Regions from separate parts of the Homo sapiens genome. Here region 2 is linked to region 1. The links are contacts of gene promoters, found by promoter capture Hi-C in blood cells and fetal thymus (Javierre and others, 2016). All regions are on one chromosome and are shown on one strand. Each heading gives the region's core, a stretch centred on a gene start or on the middle of the fragment in contact. The rest is flanking DNA. Distances are from core to core; before and after follow the strand shown. Region 1 holds the start of C16orf54 (chromosome 16 open reading frame 54). Region 2 holds the start of MAZ (MYC associated zinc finger protein).

Evidence for each region. Contacts are between HindIII fragments. The CHiCAGO score rates a contact against its expected background, and 5 or more counts as called.
Region 2: the fragment with the promoter of MAZ here is called in contact with the fragment with the promoter of C16orf54 in region 1 in 4 of 17 cell types (naive CD4 T cells, M0 macrophages, M2 macrophages and 1 more); the score reaches 6.1 in naive CD4 T cells.

The regions. Positions count from the first base shown.
Region 1 is chr16:29,744,518-29,747,742 of GRCh38, reverse strand. It overlaps C16orf54 (chromosome 16 open reading frame 54), which reads left to right and starts at 1,753. Exons shown (of 2, transcript NM_175900.4): 1 at 1,753-1,832; 2 at 2,792-3,225. The coding sequence starts at 2,792. LOC124903673 (a long non-coding RNA gene) reads right to left here and starts at 2,496. Exons shown (of 2, transcript XR_007065046.1): 1 at 2,358-2,496. RefSeq lists enhancers at 817-886, 1,414-1,463. The HindIII fragment of the contact is 10,190 bases long and covers 1-3,225 here.
Region 2 is chr16:29,804,938-29,808,162 of GRCh38, reverse strand. It overlaps MAZ (MYC associated zinc finger protein), which reads right to left and starts at 1,634. Exons shown (of 5, transcript NM_002383.4): 1 at 1,270-1,634; 2 at 335-1,185. The coding sequence starts at 1,461. KIF22 (kinesin family member 22) reads right to left here. Exons shown (of 14, transcript NM_007317.3): 12 at 3,137-3,225; 13 at 2,989-3,048; 14 at 2,779-2,900. The coding sequence ends at 2,853. RefSeq lists enhancers at 1-83, 2,654-2,703 and silencers at 164-833, 1,734-1,873, 2,004-2,343, 3,084-3,133. The HindIII fragment of the contact is 3,714 bases long and covers 129-3,225 here.

The DNA.
Region 1 (3,225 bases), core at 504-3,003:
AAGCAAGGTGGAGTCAGTTAAGTTAGATCTCTTTCTTTGCAAAGGCGGTTTCCCCCGGACTCTCCATCTCCAGCTCCTCCCAGCAGGGCTCAAAACCACCAGGATGGGGCAGTCTGACGGAGACTGTCTTTTCATTCATTTATTTATTTAATTTATTTATTTTGAGACAGAGTCTCGCTCTGTTGCCCAGGCTGGAGTGGAATGGCACGATCTCGGCTCACTGCACCGGGTTCAAGCGATTCTCCTGCCTCAGCCTCCTGAGTAGTTGGGGTCATAGGCGTGCGGCACCACGCCCGGCTAATTTTTGTATTTTTAGTAGAGACGGGGTTTTGCCATGTTGGCCAGGCTGCTCCCAAACTCCTGACCTCAGGTGATCCACCCGCCTCGGTCTCCCAAAGTGCTGGGATTACAGGCATGAGCCACCTCGCCCAGCCCAGGGATTTCTATCTATTCTTCCACCACCCTGGCCACTACATGCTCACCCACACATACATTGGTCATGCGACTTTGGTCATGAAATCTCTTTTCTTTAAGCCTTACTTTTGTCATCTGTGGATGAGTCAAACTAGAGAATCTCAGAAAGTCACCTGGACTCCAGAGCCTGATGACATCTTGTCACACTCTGCTCCAGGCTCCTCCCACCCTCAGCAGCAGGAAAGAGGGACAGACATGAGGATGGTCAGGGTTTTGGAAACAGGCCCACGCCTGTTTTTATACCCTGGACTCCTCTCAGAGGCTTGACATTTTTGTTACCCAAGCCTCACCTCACTGATATTTTCCAACCAAAATGGGGGCTAAATGGTCTGAAGAGAGAGAGACTTATGTTAATTAAAAGTATGAGGCAGGGGCCAGTGTGGTAGCTCACACCTGTAATCCCAGCACTTTGGGAGGCTGAGGCAGGAGGATCTCTTGAGGCCAGGAGCTTGAGACCAGCCTGGGCAACATAGCAAGAGCCCATCTCTACCAGAAAAAAAAAAAAAAGGTGTGAAGCAAGCTGGCCAAGCAGGGGGTGCCTGTGGGGGCTGCATGGCAGGAGCAGATCTGGGGAGGCACCGTGGATAAGACAAGGCAGGATGGGGTGGGGCATCCTCCCAGGAGGAACGGGGGAGGCACCATGGTTCTCTGGGAATGTACGGGCTAAAGTCCCAGTGTCCTATTTCTTTTTCTTTTCTTTTCTTTTCTTTTTTTTTAAGACGGAGTCTCACTCTGTTGCCCAGGCTGGAGTGTGGTGGCACGATCTCAGCTCACTGCAACCTCCGAGTCCCGGGTTCAAGCGATTCTCCCTGCCTCAGCCGCCTGAGCAGCTGAGATTACAAGTGCCCGTCACCATGCCCAGCTAATTTTTGTATTTTTCAGTAGAGATGGGGTTTCGCCATGTTGGCAGGCTGGTCTCGAACTCCTGACCTCAGGTGACTTGCCCACCTTGACCTCCCAAAATGCTGGGATTACAGGGGTGAGCCACTGTGCCTGGCCCCGGCGTCCTCTTTCTCAGCTTTTCGGTGAATGTTCTGGGGCTCAGGGCCTGGCTATGGGGTGACACTAAGTTCAACAGAACCATTGCCCATTCCAGCCCCACCTTACCCCAGGAAAAGCCTCCTCACCGCAGTGACCACATCCCCTTGGGTTGCTTTGGAAACAAACACTCCCCAGGGGCAGACGAGTTGGGGCACAGTTGCCCAGCAACAGGCGGTGCCCTCCCTTCCGCCTTCATCCGAGGCCGGGCCTCTACGTCTGAGAGGCGGACCGCCCTGCACCCTCCAAGCCTGCACCTCTTAGTCCAGCACCAGGAAGAGTGGCTCTAGGAGGGAGAGGAGCCCAGGGACTGACCCAAGGTGAGTTGAGGGGTGCAGGAGGCCCCCTGCAGATGGAGGATGTGGGGGACAGAGAGGTGTGCAGAGACAAACGAGAGATAGAGACAGGCCAGAGCCTGGGCAAAGCTGGGGAGCCCAGGAGGGGTGCAGAGGCGCCTCCGGAGGCCTGGCCCGGCCCGGCCCGGCAGCAGATTCCGTGGAGCCTATGAGAGCAAGATCAAGTCCGAGGAGAATGGTGAGGGGCGAAGGAGCCTCAAGGGGCCAGCGGAGGTGCTGGCGGCAGGCGGTGGGGGAGACACACGCAGGGGAGCCAGTGGGAGGGGAGGTTCTCATTTCTTCACCCACCACTTCCTCTCTAGGTCTGAGCAAGACTTGAGGGGGCCGAGTGGGGAGGAAAGAAGCCCTTGAGACCTTTCTTGTCTGAGGCACCCTGGGGTCTGGGAGGGAAATGGGGATTCTGGAAAGGCCTGGAGAGCCAGGCAGGAGGGCCTGGCTGTGCCCCGAGGTAGGCTGCCTGTCCTCCCACCCCACCTGGCTCACGCTTACCCTTTCTGGTCCCTCTTGCTTCTCTGTCTCTCCAGAATGTTCTTTTTCATTTTTGAGAAAGGGTCTTGCTCTATTGCCCAGGCTGGAGGACAGTGGTGCAATCTGGGGTCACTGCAGCTTCAAACTCCTGGGCTCAAGTAATCCTCCCACCTCAGCTTCCTGTGTAGCTGGGACTACAGGTGTGAGCCACCACACCCAGCTAGTTTTTAAATTATTTTTAGAGATGAGGTTTCACTGTGTGTCCAGGCTGGTCTTGAACTCCTGGGCTCAAGTGATCCTCCCGCCTCGACCTCTCAAAGTGCTGGGATTCCAGGCATGAGCCCCCATGCCCAGCCCTTCTCCCAGGCTTTCCTGGACACCTGCTGCCTCTCTCTCATCTTGGTTGTGCCCCCTCTGCCTCATTTACTTCCTCTTCTCACCCCTGTGTCTCTCAGATGCCGTTGACTCCAGAGCCGCCCTCTGGGCGCGTGGAGGGGCCCCCCGCATGGGAAGCAGCCCCATGGCCCTCACTGCCCTGTGGGCCCTGCATCCCCATCATGCTGGTCCTGGCCACCCTGGCTGCGCTCTTCATCCTCACCACCGCTGTGTTGGCTGAACGCCTGTTCCGCCGTGCTCTCCGCCCAGACCCCAGCCACCGTGCACCCACCCTGGTGTGGCGCCCAGGAGGAGAGCTGTGGATTGAGCCCATGGGCACCGCCCGAGAGCGCTCTGAGGACTGGTATGGCTCTGCGGTCCCCCTGCTGACAGATCGGGCCCCTGAGCCTCCCACCCAGGTGGGCACTTTGGAGGCCCGAGCAACAGCCCCACCTGCCCCCTCAGCCCCAAATTCTGCTCCCAGCAACTTGGGCCCCCAGACCGTACTGGAGGT
Region 2 (3,225 bases), core at 385-2,884, 61 kb before region 1:
AGGCCTTTCCGAGGATCCCTGCGCCTCCTCCCGGAGCCCAGGCCGTCACAGCGACACTTAAGCAGGAAATCCCTCCCCTGGAGCCCAGCAGCCGCTGCCGCCGCCGCCGCCTCCTCCCACGCGAAGCTTCCGTCAACCCCAAGGCCCACCTCCTCGACAAAGGACCACCCCTTGCTCCCTGGTAACCGGGAGAGGCTTCCTCCCTCCGCCCTGGGAGTGGCTCCCCTTCCCCAGCCTCAGCAGCCGCCTCCCTCCCCGCCAGCCACGGCCAGGCCACCTCCGTCGCGTCCCTCCCTCCCCACGGCCTAGCGGGCGGCCGAGGCCCCGTGCACACCGGGAGAAGCTCTTGCCACAGTGGGAGCAGTTGTAGGGCTTGTGCACAGCGCCGTCATGTGAGCGCACGTGGTAGCTCATGCGGTCCTTGCGCTTGAAGCGCTGCTGGCACACCGGGCACTGGTAGGGCTTCTCGTCCGAGTGCGACAGCTTGTGTCGGTTCAGGTGGTAGACGTCGCGGAAGGCCTTGCCACACATCTCGCAGGCATGGTTCTTCCGGATGCGCTTCCCCGAGGCGGTCGTGGTCACCACGCCACCGGCGGCCACTGCGGCAGCGCCGCCGCCGGCACCCGCCTCTCCCCCTCCCCCGCCGGCTCCGCTCAGCTGGGGCACGCTCAGGAGGCTCAGGGGCACCATGGTCGGCATCTTCATAGCACCCGAGGGGACCCGGCCGGCCTTGGCTCCCGTGTGGATGGCTTCGTGCCTCCGGAGATTGTAGCCGTTCTTGAACTCCTTGGCGCACAGAGCGCAGATGTAGGGCCCCTTGCTCTTTGTCTTCTTCTCCAAGGCAGACGCGACCGGGGCCACGGCGACCGTCGAGGTTGGGGCTACGACGGCGGTGGCCGCCGCCGCGGCGATAGTGGCGGCGGAGGCGGGGGGCGCGGCCTCGGCCGCGGGCGCCGACACTGGCGGGGGTGGCGGAGGGGGCGCCGGAGGCTGCTTCAGGGCCGCTGTGTCCACCGTAGAGGCGGCGGCAGGGGCCGGGGGCGCGGCAGCGACGGCGGCAGCAGCGGCGGCAGCGGCCGCAGCAGCCGCGGCGGACTCCTGGGCGGCGGCGAGCACCGGGAGCAAGTCCACCTGGAGGGGCTCGGCCGCCGGGGCCTGGGGCGTGGGCGGGGGCGCCGGCGCGGCCTGCGGAGACAAGGCGCCGAGTGGGCCGCGGGTGCGGGCGGGCGTCCCCCCCCAGCCCGGGCCGCCGCGGCCGGCCCTACTCACCTGGAATGGACTCTGGGCGCAGCCCTGGGAGGCAAAGAAGCGGGACTGGAGCTCAGCCCCGACCTGCAGGGGGTTCTGGGCGTGACCCTGAGGTGGCGGGAAGGAGTTCATGAGGCCGCCCACCCCCCGGGAGTCCAGGCCCAGCACGGGGAAGGGGGGGGCCAGCAGCGTGCAAGGAAACACCGGGAACATGGCCTCGGCCGCAGCGGGGCCCCCGGGGCTCAGCGGGGGCCGGGGGCGCGGGCCGCGCGGGGCCCGGGCTCGGGGCGCCGCCCCCGGCCGGCCGGGCTGGGCCGCGCCGAACGCATGGCCCGCGGGCCGCCCCGCCGCCCGCGCACCCCGGCCGGCGGGAGGGAGGAAAAGAGGGCGCCTTGCGGGCCGCGGAGCGCCGCGGCGACGGCGGCGGCGACGCCCCCTGGGTGGGGGCGGGAGGCCCCGCGGGGCCGGGGCCGGGGGCGGGGGCCCGGGCGGCGGCGGCGGCGGCGGCGGCGGTTGGAGCCTGGCGGGGCGGGGTGGGGGGAGCGAGGGAGCAGCCTCGGCCCCCGCCGCGCGCGCGCCCAGCCGGCGCCTCGGGGAGGGCGGGGGAGGGCGCGAGGGAGGGAGGGGGACAGCTGCGCGCGCACCGGGCGCGCGGAGGGGGGGTGGGACGGGAGGGAGGGCGGGCAGGAGGGGGTGTGGGCAGGGGGGTGGGGGCGGGGGGAGGGAGTTGTTACCTGGAAGATGAAGCTGCTCCAGTTGCTGGGATCCATGGCGGAGGGAGGGAGGGAGGTGGCTCGCGCTCACCCTGGGGCGGGAGGAGGAGGCGGCGGCGGTGGGGGAGGGGGAACCCGGGAGGAGGCGCGCGGGGCGGGCAGGAGGGGGGAGGTGGAGGGTGGGGGAAGCGGAGCACACTACGCGCGGGGAGGGCGGGCGGGGGGCGCGAGGACACACAAGAGGCTGGAGCGGGCGCGAGCGCTAGCGCGAGCGCGCGCGTGGCCAGCGGGAGGGGCAGGCGCGAGAGGGACTCTGGCGGGAGGAGGGACGGGGGAGCCACCCAGCAGCCCGAGTCGCCCCGAGCGCGAGACCCCTGAGACGGCTGCTGATTGGCTGACGATGGCGCAGGTGGTGGGCGCGCGGGAGACAGGGCGGCTTCTCTCCTCTTCCCCCCGCCAACGATTCCACTCCCCCTCCCTCCGCCAGCGGCCGTTATTTCGCGCGCACGCGCACAAGGCCGCCGTCGTTGCCGAGCGGGAGAATGGGGGAGCGCGCGCGCCGGGGGCACGGACGGGGCGGGGCTAATCCCTGAGCGCGCGCCCGCCTAACGGTCGCAGGCCTCATGCTTCGGCTTCCGCTTTTTGCGTCCTGCAGGCCACCGTCCTCCCCGCCCCACCCCAGCGGTGTATTTACAATCCTGCGCTGAGTCGTTCCCCGAAGATGGCGCCCAGTGGAGTCGCCTGCCTTGCTCGCGGCCCACCCCGAGGCGGTCACACCCCGGTCCCGCCCCCGCAGCCCCAAAAATCAGGCGGAAGCACCGGAGCAAAAACTGTATTTACACAACACGGGGTTATACAAAAATTTGAAAAGGCGGAGTGAGGAGACGACGGTCAGGAGGCGCCACAGCGCTGGCCGGCGGCGAGACCCAGGATGTTTGCCTGCAACACAGGAGGGAGGGAGACAGCGACGTTAGAGAGGGGCGCGGGGCGCAGGACAGGCAGAGGAGGGGCAGGGCCGTGACTTCACCTTCAGGAAGGACTCCATCTGTTTCCCCGTTATGCCCTCCACGCGTTCCAGGTCCTCCACCTGGCGGGACAGGATCGATAGGGGACAGGGTCTCGGGGGTACCCGGTCTCCCCCGCCCCCGCCCTCCCCCAGTCCAGTGGGCTGCTACCTGGCTGAAGGGGCCGTGGAGCTCCCGCCAGCCCACGATTAGCTGGGCCTTCTTCGGGCCAATGCGCTGAAGACTGCGGAGATCTCGGG